4 separate regions of the Homo sapiens genome follow, and all the other regions are linked to region 3. Evidence: promoter capture Hi-C in 16 types of primary human blood cells and fetal thymus (Javierre and others, 2016). All regions are on one chromosome and are shown on one strand. The core of a region is centred on a gene start or on the middle of the fragment in contact, and the rest is flanking DNA. Distances in the headings are between cores, read along the strand shown. Region 1 has its middle 28 kb from the start of FOSL2-AS1. Region 2 overlaps FOSL2 (FOS like 2, AP-1 transcription factor subunit). Region 3 holds the start of RBKS (ribokinase). Region 4 has its middle 44 kb from the start of FOSL2-AS1.

Region 1 (3,021 bases), core at 342-2,841, 530 kb before region 3:
AAGGTGGGAGACAGATGGCAGCGATGGGAGATGGAGGAGATGCCCTCTGATGGCCTCCATTTTCTGTGAGGTGGAAGGTGACATCGTCTGTAGAAAGTGAGGGGGCTGGGGGGCCTGAGAAGAGGGGAGCCCCTCTGGGGAACAAGAGAACACTGGCCGGGAAAACACAGAGGGCTCAGGACCAGGGCAGGGTGGAAACATGACGTGATGGTGGCACCCATCTGCACGTCCTCCAGCTCCTGGCATTAAATGCCTAAAACCGAACTCAGGACCTGGGCCTCCTGCCCCCGACCCAGCTCCTCCTCTTGCCTCCCAGTTTTTATTCCTGGAACCAGACCTCTCAGACTCGGCTTCCCCAGGAACGTCCTTCTGACATCACTGCTAGTGCGGACTCTTGCGGGGCCTCCTTCCTCCCCCCGCCCACCTTTCCTGCACACCTGCAGCAATAACCTCTCTAGAGTGGGACTGCGGCTGTGTCACCCCTCCGCCATGCAGCTGCCCCATTTGCAGCTTCCAATACCTAGAAATAAATCTCTCATTTCTTCTTACTTTTGGGGTCTGTTTAAATGCCACTGATTCTGGAAAGCCCTTTCTAACCATCCCCCAGACTAGGGAAAGTCCCCTTGGTACCTGCCCCCATGGTGCCTTATACATCTCTGTGAGACACTCGTGAACCTGTAATTACTTATTCTACAATGGCCAGTAGCCAGGACAATGGCCTGGGGTGGGGGTGGGGGCCCTAAGGCTTCCTTGTCCCCTCTGTCTTCCTGGAGCCGAGAACAGTGCCTAGCACAAATAGGCACTCAATAAAAGGCGTTGATAGACTGACTATAGAAAGGTTCAAGCCTGCCTTAGGTTGGCAGCTTAAATTTCCAACATCCCCAATCAGCCCATGCTCAGGACATCCAGGCCTCCTGCACAGCCCCCAAAGCCAACCCATGTTCTCTTCCCCTTGTGTTAGATTGTTCCCTTGGCCAGGCACGCTTGCTCTCTTCTTTATCCATTTTTTTTTTTTTTTTTTTTTTTGAGGCAGGGTCTCACTTTGCTGTCCAGGCTGGAATGCAGTGGCATTATCACAATTCACTGCAGCCTCCACCTCCTGGGCTCAAGCGGTCCTCCCACCTCAGCCTCCTGAGTAGCTGGGATCACAGGTGTATGCAACCATGCCCAGCTAATTTTTTAAGTTTTTATAGAGACGAGGTCTTGTCGTGTTACCCAGGCTGGTCTTGAACTCCTGGCCTCAAGTGATCCACCTGCCTTGGGCCTCCTGAAGTGCTGGGATTACAGGTGTGAGCCACCGTGCCCGGCTCCACTCCATCTTACCCATAGCCATCCCACTTTCAGGCTCCAATTTAGGATCCTCTCCTCCATGGAATTGTCTCTGAAATCCCCCCACCTGCCACAGGCCAAAATGTCTGTGCTCCTTCTCCTTCCACTCCAACCAGATTGCAACCTCCTTGAGGGCAGCTTCTAGTTTTTAGTTCATTGCTATTTCCAGTGAAAACATTTGGCTGTGAAATAAAGAGACACCTCATTTCTAACACTGGCATCAACAGTGTCTTATAGAACTGTGTCCCAAGAGTGCCTTTGGCGGTGTCATGCACTTAGTAGGAACACAAAAATATTTTTTAATGAATATTTTCTCCCTCATCCCTGTAAGAATATAATGGTGACAGTCTCCAACTGCACACTAATTTTTTTAAATGCGGTTCTCTTATGTTTAAAACACAAGGTGTCTGTTTTTATCAGTGAATGTAGTCTGTCTTTTCAGATTTATTCCATCTTTGAGAAACAAATGCATGCCATTTGCACTGGATCAAGGTAGTAACTGTACTTGCCAGTGGAACAGACACACCACTGTGTAAGAAAAAAGGAATTTCTGGCCGGGTGCAGTAGCTAACCCCTGTAATCCCAGCACTTTGGGAGGCCGAGGCAGGTGGATCACTACAGATCAGGAGTTCGAGACCAGCCTGGCCAACATGGTGAAACCCCATCTTTACTAAAAATACAAAAATTAGCTGGGCTTGGTGGTGCATGCCTGTAGTCCCAGCTACTTGGGAGGCTGAGGCAGAAGAATCACATGAACCCGGGAGGCAGAGGTTGCAGTGAGCCAAGATTGTGCCGCTGCACTCTACCCAAACAATAGAGCGAGACTCCATCTCAAAAATAAATAAAATAAAAAGAAAAAAAAAAAGAGAGAATTTCTAATGGAGTTGAGATTTTCCAACACATCCAGCAACATTTGTCTCTTGGGTTACTGAATGAGACCATTTATATAAAGGCACATGAAAAGGTTACGAAGTATGGAAATAAAGGGGAAACAGTACCACTAGTCTCTATTAGTTTATTTTCTGTGCTAATGTTTCATGATTCTTTTTTAGTTCAGAAAATAGAGTCACTGGGATTCTCAGAAATACTACCTAAATATAAATCCATAGAGACAGAAAGCAGATTGGTGGTTGTCAGGGGTTGGGGAGGGAGGACTGGGGAGTAGTAGCTTAATGGGTTTGGGGTTTTCTTTCTGGGTGATGAAAATATTTTGCAACTAGACAGAGGTGGTAGTTGTATTATACAACATCGTGAAGGTAATAAATGCCACTGAATTGTTCACTCTAAAATGGTTCATTTTCTTCTATATGAATTCCACCACAAAACAAAGATATGTCACCTATATAATACTGAATAGTTTCCAAAGGTCCTGAGGGACAAGGCAGCGTTATGCTCTGAAATAGCAGCAGATCTGAAGGCCCCACAGCAGCCTGTACTTTGCCTTTGGAGAAAGAAGGGGGGTCCCCCGTGTCTAACCAGGGCCCTGTCCTCACAGTGCCCTCAGAGACATTCAGCCGAATGCCACTGCAGTCCAGGCCACTGCGGAGTGTTTGTGTTTTGGTTTGTTTTCCCCTTGGGCTTACAGAAGGACTTGTGAAGGTGTTTAGTTTGGTTAAGGACTTCCCACTTCCAGAGGTGGAGCCTGAAGAAGGTTCTATTTTTTTTCTTCAAGTGAGTGGAACTTTCCAGGGA
Region 2 (3,231 bases), core at 585-3,084, 510 kb before region 3:
AGGAGAATTGCTTGAACCGCGGAGGTGGAGGAGGTTGTAGTGAGCCGAGATCGTGCCACTGCATTCTAGCCTGAGTGATAGAGCAGGACTCCATCTCAAAAAGAAAAAAAAAAAAAAAAAAAAAAAGGGAATGGAGAGCATTCAGCACATCCTCAGGCTTTGTGGTCCTGCTAGCCCCAAAGAGTACCTGGCAAGCCTGGCTCTCACTCAGGATCACTTATATCCCAGAAGAGTCCAGCTCATCAGTGAGTATAAGGCTTTGCACCTTGGATTCCGTGAAGGAAGCCTATTTATAAAAGTCCTTACAAGCATGGCTACTGCAATATTTACAACTGCAATTATAGAAAGCAACTGTGAGGAGGATACTGGCCACTTGCTCCAGCAGCAGAGGCCCAACATGCAGCTGTGAATCCATTATAGTGTCTAGCAGACACACCTCCCCAAGTGGCTCTGCACCGTGGTTCTGCCATTAACAGAACAAACCAACAAGTAGTGGATACAAGACCCAGCTTTGTCCTCGCAGGAGCAGAGCTCCTGAGAAAGCTTCCAGTTTCTTGGTGTGGTGATCCCTGTAATTCCAAGTATCCTGGGGTCTGGATCTACCCTGATCCACTGGGAACCATGTTTGAAAGGTCCGTATATTGGAACATTGTGGCCCTGGGGATCACAGAGTGAAGATGGACAGTGGTTGAAATGAGGAAGGGTTCCAAGGCTGTCACTGAAATAGTTTCCCAGGATAACAATTCATTTGAAAAAGGGATTCCACTGCTAAAGTATTTTTCCCTTCCCTGGGCTCAGGGTGGCATAGCCCTGGAGAAAGAATACTGCATAGGGGGTCCAGGGAACTGGGATCTAGCCCAGACTTCCCCACTCACTGGCCGAGTGGCCACACACAGGTATGTCTGGCCCTTGCTTGTATCATCTGACATGGGGGAGAGGTGGGGCTCTCTGAGGCTTTATCCCATTCTTTCTGGAATTATGCATGATTCTGATTTCCCTTTCCAAGACCAGGGAACTTGGCACTGCCCTGGCTTACTGCTGATCCAGGCAATGAGCCTCTTGAGTACTAGGTAGGTGCTGCCTAAATAGCAGAGCCCCCCCTTCCCCATTTTCTGGCTTCCCTCCCCAGCCAGGTTAATTCTTTCTCAAAGCTGAGCCCCTTGAAGAGAAAAGGGCTGATGTCTGGCCTCCCCTGCCTCATCCTCCTGTCCATGCCACTGAACAGACTCCTAAGGCCCCAGAGTTACTGCACCTCTGGAACATGCATTCCAGGCCCTTGAAATAGGCTCCTGCTCCGAGTTGGAGGCCTAGAACACTGAGGAGGAATGGGAAGTCGTGGGCAGTACCGACCCAGAGCTTGACCCCGTAGGTCTGCTGGGTGCCTGGCCTGCACTAGACCCTGGGAGACGGCTAAGGGATAATCCTAAAAAGCTCACAGCCAGGGTTCATTGGCTGCTTGTCCCATGGCCCTTTTGCCAAGGATCAGAGAAGGATCCTGCTGTGGGCAGGTCGTAATGGTCCTTCCCATCTGTAGCCAAGTCCTGGCTTGCAGGGACCATGATCCCCATTTTGTGGCTGAGGAAAGTGAGACTCAGAGATTCTAAGGGACATAAGCGAGATGACAGAGCCAGCCTGAGTCTTGGCTCTCCAGCTCGGCCTCCAGTAAGGGGGATGACGTGCTCTTCGACCCCTAGCTCCCTTGTCTCCCCTGCTCTCAGAACATTAACCCTCCCAGTCTGCAGAAACCCGTTCTGTGTTTCTGGGGCTCTGAAAGCCACTGACGTGGCTCCTTCCCACTGGTCTGAGCTGTACCTGCTCATCTCTCCTCCTGCGGCCCACGGTGGTGCCAATGGTCTTGATCACGCCAGGTCTTGGGAGGGCCATGTGTCCAGGGACAGAGGCCAGGCCCGGCAGGGGGCTGTAGGGGTGCGAGCGAGGGTATGGGTTGGACATGGAGGTGATCACTGTGGGCTGCACCATCCACTGCAGGTCCTGGCTGGTCGTGATGGCGTTGATGGTGGGGATGAATGCACTGCCTGAGCCAGGCATATCTACCCGGAATTTCTGAAATGAGGAAAAAAAATACAAATGAGCCAATAAATACTAAGCTGAACAGGATAGTTAATAATAATTGAACAGAGCTGAGGCAAAAACCAGCACAGAGCACAGTCAGTGTTCGAAGGGCAAGGTCAGGACCCCAGGTGGGCCTGGACAAGTCCTGTGCATCCAAGAATCAAGGGGGGAATCTTAATTATGCCTGGGGCTTCACGTCGGATCTGCTCCCTGACTGGGGTCCTGAGAACTCCATCCCCAGGTGGCTCAGTGAGGATACTGTCCTATTCCAAATGACTTCCAAGATAGACGTGGTCCCCAGCACTCACACTCGGCAGGCCCTCTTGGCAGCTCTCCAGGATACACATCTGCAGGATGTGGCACCTGGGTTTTTAAGCCTCTGAGTCGCCTGCCAACTGTTTCTCAGGGTACCAGCTCAGGACACCTTGAAGGGATTTGCACACCAGTAGCCTTGGACCAACAAAGATCACCAAGGGAGCATACTGTGTCTGCCTTTGTCACTTTCCAAAGAGGTTCAGGACAGAGCTATGACTCCATCAGGGCACAGCCAGGTCCGTGAAAAGATGTCCTCTAACCCAGGAGACTAACAAGTAGCGGCATTTGCAGCCAGACATCCCTTGCTGTCCTTGTCCCTCCTCCCTTCCCATCATCAGCATCTTGCTTGGGGCAGACTGGCTGAGTGTGTCTCTCTACCCAGCTACATAGGCATTGATCTATGTTCACAGATGTTTCTGTGGGAAACTCTGGTGCTGCTAGTGCAGTTTTCTCCCCGCTTCTTAATTTATGCCCAGACCACGTTGCAGAGCTCTCTGGAACATGCTGCAGGAAGCATTCTATTTAAAATATAAGATGATGACAGAGTATAGAAACTAAAATGGGCTGTGCTCCTTAGCAGCTGGTCCTGACCTTTCTCCAAGGCAGCTACTGGAAACTGCAAGAAGCGGGAAGGAGAGAAGAGCCCCCTACTTCCAGCTTTTCAGAGGCAAGTCCCCCTAATGGAACCCAGGTGAACCTTCATCTTCAGATGACTCCTGTGTCCACATAAAGCTTCTCCAAGTAGTTTCTTCCCCACTTAAAAACTGGGTGAGATGAAGACAATAGCTAACAACACTTCCTGGGCACTTACTAAATGTCAGACACCATGGCTTACCTAGATTA
Region 3 (3,053 bases), core at 382-2,881:
AAGTAAAAATTTAAACAAATGATTGCTTTACCACTAAAAACAAACTGGACTATTGCTGACCTACTGCTGAACCTGGTCTGAGTGATTCACTAGTCAAATGTTAAAGGGAACAGCCTTGCTCTAGAAGCCAAACCATACTAAGTGACAACAATACATTCTAATTCAGCAACGGTCGTGACTTTAGGATGACACCTGAGGGAATGAATTCTATTTCCAGGGCAGCCATAATACTATGTTTTAACAGTGCAAGGTTTCACGCAGTATTAAAATCTATTTCAACCATGAGGAGGTGTGACTTCTCTAAAAAAAAAGGGCGGGGGGTGGGGAGTGGAACACAATGACTCCAAAATCAGAAGTCACTTAGCCAAAAACACTGGTCCTTTGGTGCAGTGAACCGGGTACATGGACAGGGAGTCACCACCGGTAGTAACTCTTACGCATGGCAGCACTATAATACACCCCAGATATACAAATATTTACGGTGGTCAGAGTCCCCTGAATACTACTACTGCAATTTGTATTTCCTGATTTTGACGTATTGCAAAAGGAAAATGCAAAATTACAATTTTTGCAAGGGTCTGCTACCCCAAAATAAAGTTACAAAAGGTCCTTTGATGAGAGGCCTGGGGATTACAAAGACGTCTAAAGCACCATCCAGGTTCTTGCAATTAAAATGAGATGACAAACACGGAAACATGTGCCCTGCTGACGTCATGGAACGGAAAGGGGTGGCATCCTGCTGCGTCACGTCGACGTCATACAGCGCACGAGGGAAGTTACACTGGGGAAGCAATTTCCCCCAAGGGGCAACATTCGAGAAAAACAAGTTAGCTCAGACCCGAAGAATGACCACCCCACTCTAGGGGACGTCTTAAAAAGGGACACTCTCCCCTCTTCCAAACTGTATGATTCCCCTCATCAGGCAACAAGGAACTAATACTCGGGGTTTACAGGAACCAGGGGATGGGCCAGATATGGAGAAAGAGACGCCTCTGGCCTTGGGGGCTCGTTCTTGAGGGAATCAGCGTGATGGGGATGAGAAGGGCATCTTTGGAACGGGGGCCTTCTCCATAGGAAGAGGAGGCGAGTCCCCTGGCCATATTTAAACCACAGTTCTCCACGCCACCTGTGCGACTCGGGATCCAACCTCCCCGCACCAGCCCCAGTCCAGGTACCTGGAACTTAGTCCGATCGGTAACCGGCGACTACGTGGGGTACAGGTACCCGAGCGCGCCCCCGACAGACGCACCGACCTGCGCGCGCGCCGCGGGCAGGATGCGTGCGCACTCCCCGGACGTCCCGCCCCGCCCCCTCTGCGGCCCCGAAGCTGGGCGGCGTGCGCGCCCCCGCGCCGCGCCGAGCCGGGCGCTCGGAAAGGCGTCCCCGCGGTGCCTGACAGTTCCTTCCTCAGCGCCTGCCCCGTGAGTGACGAGGAGCGCGGAGTCTCGCCATATCAGGAGGGCCCTGTTACGTGAGGCTGTGCACCGAGACTATTCCAGGAAGAAGAGGGGACACTTGGTGGGCGGGGTGATTTCGGGCAGTCAGGTGGGCGACCCGCGTAGGCGTCTGAAAGGCCCGCGTCGTTAGGGAGGGCAGGAGTGGCGTCTCTGGTTACGGGGTCGGGCAAAGGGCAGAGGTCACCGTCCAGGTTGGACAGCAGCACCTTTGAGCGATGGCGGCGTCTGGGGAACCCCAGAGGCAGTGGCAAGAGGAGGTGGCGGCGGTGGTAGTGGTGGGCTCCTGCATGACCGACCTGGTCAGGTTAGTCCGGGGCCAGTTACTCAGTCTGCGGCTCGGGGGAGGAGGCGTGCCGTGCGCTATGCGCCCAGTGGAGCTTTTGGGCGCTGGGTCTCCAGGGATAGACAGTGCTAGCTTTGGGTATGAGCTGCAGGTTTTCGAAGCCTTCAGCCTACCTTCCTGGCATGAAAGAACTTGAGTATATAAAGGTAAATCTCAGGGGAGGGGACGTAATAGGCCAGGGTTTAGTGAAAGCTCTAATATTACTCAAAGCGCTCCCCAAAGACCTGCCCTCCAAAGACTTGCGCCCCCAAAGACCTTTCTTGGCCCGGCTGCTGAGCCTTTCCCCAAACGAGCCAGGGAACTTTGCCCACGTCATTTTACCTCCGAGAATGTGCCTACCTCACAGGGTTGTTGTGAGGACTAAATGAAGTAAAGTGTTTTGTCAAGCGTAACATTATCCAAATTGGGTATTATTCGTCTGAGCTTATTGTATAAAATAATGAGTTGAGCAGAAATCAAAAAGACTGTCACCTTTCACCATGTTGATTGTCGGCATTACTGCAGTATTTTATATTTACAGCGTATTTTTCAGCAAGCCAAGTATGAATCAAAATAAAAACATAAACACAGTATTTACAACCTCTGAAAACGATGATCAAATTATGATAGAAAATATGCCAAATGAAAATTGTTGAGTTAGGTCAGTAAGATTGAGTAGACAGATCCTTCTGATTTTTCTTTTTTTTAAATTAAGGTAGCTTTTCTGATTACAAAAGTAATGTATGTTCACTGTAAAATTAGTAATAAATTCAGATATTCCAAGAAAATCCTACCACTCCAATTACTGCAGTTCAGTCTTTTGATGAATATCTTTTCAGTTGTAATGCTACTTTGTGTTATAAAAATGATCAGGTATGCTACAGTAACACCTCATTCGTCCTGAAATGTTGCTTTTCCAAAGGGTAATAGAGAACGTGGAACTAAACAAAAAGGCTTTGGGACAATCAAAATAAGTCACCAAATTGCTGCACCAAACCACCTGTATTCTACTCAGAAAATAGGTCTAGGGTCTTCATGTAACCAATTTAACCTTACCTTAAAATATTTATAAGCTGTGTTACCAAATTTCCACTGAGATTAGAAAGGTGGGAGTTAGAGAAGAGACTGCTAGAGGCAGTTATAGTGACTGACGAAAACTTGAGGATGAGTAGGAGACTGTGTAACGAGAAGAAGCAACAAAAGAATTTTAAATACCAATGACCTTTATTTTTCCACAAATATTAGAACTATTCTGTCAGACACTGTGCCAAGAT
Region 4 (3,129 bases), core at 492-2,991, 550 kb before region 3:
GAGGAAGGCACATGGAGGAAATGTCTTTGGGTTGTCCAGAGGTTGAGCTTACTCTCCACCAGAATTGCCGCTAGACCTCTGTCCCCCTCAGCTTGCCCCTGCTCCACTCTACAGCACCCCCAGCTCAGGCCCAAGGTGGTGACTTCTTAAACAGTGGGTATGGAAGGTGGCATTGAAGAAGTGAGTGAGTGCTGAGCCCTGGCCTCTCCGTAGGACTGCCTGGTTCTCAGACTGAGGAACATGTGGACCCTTTTAAACTTTAAAATCTCTGCCCTCCCTGGTCTCCCAGGAGAAGCTAGAAGTTTCAGGAGACCTCACCCATGAGCCCATTTTCTGACAACCTGGCTCCCCACAAGCATGGCAAGTCCCCTAGAGGTTTGTATGGACGAAAAGGAGAGGCCTTATCCACTGCGCCCAGGGCTCAGCCCTGCTTCAGGCGTGTGTTGTCTGTAGCGGGCAGAGGGAAGGGGGCAGGTGGGGGAAGCGTCATGAGTCTGGCTCCCGACACCTGTCCAGGGCCTCAGCCCGCTGGCCTGGACTCTGTTGCTAACACCCGTGCGGCCGTTGCCCGCCCTGCCACCTGTGAAAGTAAAGCGGGGCTCAGGGGAGGGCCTAGCTCAGGGCGTTCTACGCTGAGTTCCTCAGCACTGATGGGGGCTCTCCATTGTCCCCTCTGGCTCTGCCAGTCCAGGAACCCTGATGGAGCAGGGCTGGGGGCCCAAGACTGAGTATGGCCACCCCCTCCGGCAGGTGGGCTGACTCCAAGGCCTGCTGTGTGGCAGAGGAGTGTGGAGGGTGGTGGCGTGGGGGTGGCAGCTGTCAGGCCCAGGTGAGAGGAAGGCAAACAGAAAGGGATATATCCTCCAAAGCAGTGAATCACGAGCCACGACATTCATTAACTCGGCCTAATTAAGAAACAAACATGACGGCCACTGGTGCTGGGCAATTTGTTAACATCCAGTCCTCCTGGTCCCCCTGCCCCCGCTGATGAGGCCCTCTGCCTCCTCCTCAGTCCGAAGAGTGCCCTGGAGAGTCAGCACTGGGGCACTGACAGATGCTCCTGGCCTGTGGGATGGGGAAGGAGGGCTGATGCTCATGATGTATCTCCCTCGTGTCAGGTCCAGACTTTCATGAGGGTCACATCCGTGGGTCCTCACAAGCCCCTGAGAGGTGGGATTCATGGTTCCCAATTTGGAGATGGGGAATTTGAGGCTCAGAAAGCGGGGTGAACTTGCCCAAGGTCTCACACTAAGTGACGTCACTCTTTTCGTCACAATAGATAGTTGTCTTACTTGCAAGACTGAAAATACTTTTAGATTTTCTATTCTGACCTCCCAACTCATGGCTGTCCCCTCCCTAACAATATAACTTCCAGCTCCTTCCAGCAGCCCCCTCCACTGAGTCAGTCTTGAAGGGCATGGTGCAAGAATGCTTTCCAGAACAGGGAAGGTAGGATTTTAATTTTTCTGAAATAAATAGGAAAAATAGGGATAAGAATAGCAATGACAGTGTATTGCAGAGGCAGACGGAAGGGAAGGCTTAGCATATCATGTGCAACAGCCTGCAGGAGGCCATTTTGTCCGGAGCACAGTGAGTGGCTTAGATGGGAGCGGTGAGGGAGGGAGGGGTTGGGGGCACTGAAGAGGTGTACATTTCATTCCAAGGGCATTTTCAGCCGAGGAGATGGTGGCCACCTGCTGCCCTGTGAAGGCTGGATGAGTGATGGCCGGGGGGGCAGGTCCGCAGCGTCAGGGGCTCACATAAGAGATCTGAACTCGAGCTAGATGGGATGTTGTGTTGACAAGAGATCTTTCAAGAATGGCTTGACCTTTCTGTATCCCACGAGTCAACCACAGTGATCTGCAAAGCTATCTCATGAAGGAAATGACTGCGTGAATTTTAGCCCATGCTCTCACTGCGGCCTGGGCGATTATGATATTGGACAGAGATACTAGAGGAACACCCTCCATGCTGGGTCCCACCCAACTCTGCAGTCTGGTGTTTCCAGATTCTCCCTCTGTGCTGTTAGACCTGTGCGGCATCCATCTGGAATGCGAGGATACATCCTTCCAACCTCTCTTCTTCTTAGGCCCACCTGCCCTTGTCCTCGCTACAGCTTTCCCATTAAGGCGTCTGATGACCACAATGTTTCTAAGCTGGAAACCTCCCAACTAACAGCAGGACCCAGAATGCAAGTCTCCAGGGGCACAAAGAGGTACTTCAACAACAGGATGACCCACCCCCAACTACCAACCAAACTACGCTCTGCTGCAAGGCAGGAGACCGGCTTCTCTCAAATACAGCAAAGGCTGTCCCAGATACACAGTGACACACAGACAGTGCCTTGAGTTCGCCTGGTCATTACTTGGAGGATTGATTTGGTCCAAAACTCCTCGAGCTGCCAGGGATCCTAGTTAACAGCCCCATGCATGAAAACCAAGCAGGCCTGGAATTCCACCCTCCTGTCAACAAGCCCAGGAGAGGAAACCAGCGGCTGGGATGCACTTGTGTTTGCCCTGAGAGCAGGGAGCTCCTCCTCCACAGACCAGGCATGGAGGACGGCCCTGGTGGGGCCACCTGCCCATAATCCCCAAGTGACTCTGGAAGATTCCTCCTTTTGAAAATCATGGGGAAGGGGTTACCTGTTATGATTTTGGCATTCTGCCTTCTTTGTGACTGGTGGAAATCCTACAGACTTGCACCAACTTTCCTAAGACAATAGACTTCGGGGTTTAAAACATGTTAACACAATGTCTTTGAAACATTTAGAAATATCTTCACCACTCCCACCAACGTTGAGCATTTGTTTTTAAAAAATAAACACATGGCAAGAATGCCGTGCAGCACGCCAACGCGCAGGGGGCTGTTGTGCAAGCCACCCGCCCACGTGGTGGGTAGGAACCTGCCCACAGCTGTCGCCCTGCTCCTAACAACTCCTCCGGGCACACCCTGCTCATTAGGCCCAGGCCACGCCTGGCCGCCCAGACTCCTGGTTTAACCAGAATGCCAGGGGCGGGTGGGTGGGCGGCTCCTTGAACCCTGAACAATGGGCTATGAAAGAATGAATCTAGGCCCAGGCCTCGGGCCCAAGAGCTGGGCGCTGGCCCTCGGGATCCTCCCACAGCCAAG

Evidence for each region. The method cuts DNA at HindIII sites, captures the fragments that hold promoters and counts their contacts. A CHiCAGO score of 5 or more calls a contact.
Region 1: a fragment that was not itself captured here is called in contact with the fragment with the promoter of RBKS in region 3 in 3 of 17 cell types (activated CD4 T cells, M0 macrophages and monocytes); the score reaches 8.5 in activated CD4 T cells.
Region 2: a fragment that was not itself captured here is called in contact with the fragment with the promoter of RBKS in region 3 in 7 of 17 cell types (activated CD4 T cells, M2 macrophages, endothelial precursors and 4 more); the score reaches 11.5 in activated CD4 T cells.
Region 4: a fragment that was not itself captured here is called in contact with the fragment with the promoter of RBKS in region 3 in 1 of 17 cell types (M2 macrophages); the score reaches 5.2 in M2 macrophages.

The regions. Positions count from the first base shown.
Region 1 is chr2:28,420,730-28,423,750 of GRCh38, reverse strand. No RefSeq gene overlaps it. Among named protein-coding and RNA genes, the nearest start is that of FOSL2-AS1, 28 kb to the right of the region's middle. The HindIII fragment of the contact is 5,483 bases long and covers 1-3,021 here.
Region 2 is chr2:28,402,940-28,406,170 of GRCh38, reverse strand. It overlaps FOSL2 (FOS like 2, AP-1 transcription factor subunit), which reads right to left. Exons shown (of 4, transcript NM_005253.4): 2 at 1,813-2,064. Among named protein-coding and RNA genes, the nearest start is that of FOSL2-AS1, 9.9 kb to the right of the region's middle. The HindIII fragment of the contact is 2,577 bases long and covers 546-3,122 here.
Region 3 is chr2:27,888,965-27,892,017 of GRCh38, reverse strand. It overlaps RBKS (ribokinase), which reads left to right and starts at 1,631. Exons shown (of 8, transcript NM_022128.3): 1 at 1,631-1,761. The coding sequence starts at 1,673. BABAM2 (BRISC and BRCA1 A complex member 2) reads right to left here and starts at 1,289. Exons shown (of 12, transcript NM_199191.3): 1 at 1,176-1,289. It overlaps BABAM2-AS1 (BABAM2 antisense RNA 1), which reads left to right and starts at 904. Exons shown (of 1, transcript NR_028308.1): 1 at 904-2,562. RefSeq lists a silencer at 1,164-1,443. The HindIII fragment of the contact is 13,557 bases long and covers 1-3,053 here.
Region 4 is chr2:28,437,454-28,440,582 of GRCh38, reverse strand. No RefSeq gene overlaps it. Among named protein-coding and RNA genes, the nearest start is that of FOSL2-AS1, 44 kb to the right of the region's middle. RefSeq lists an enhancer at 202-701. The HindIII fragment of the contact is 8,626 bases long and covers 1-3,129 here.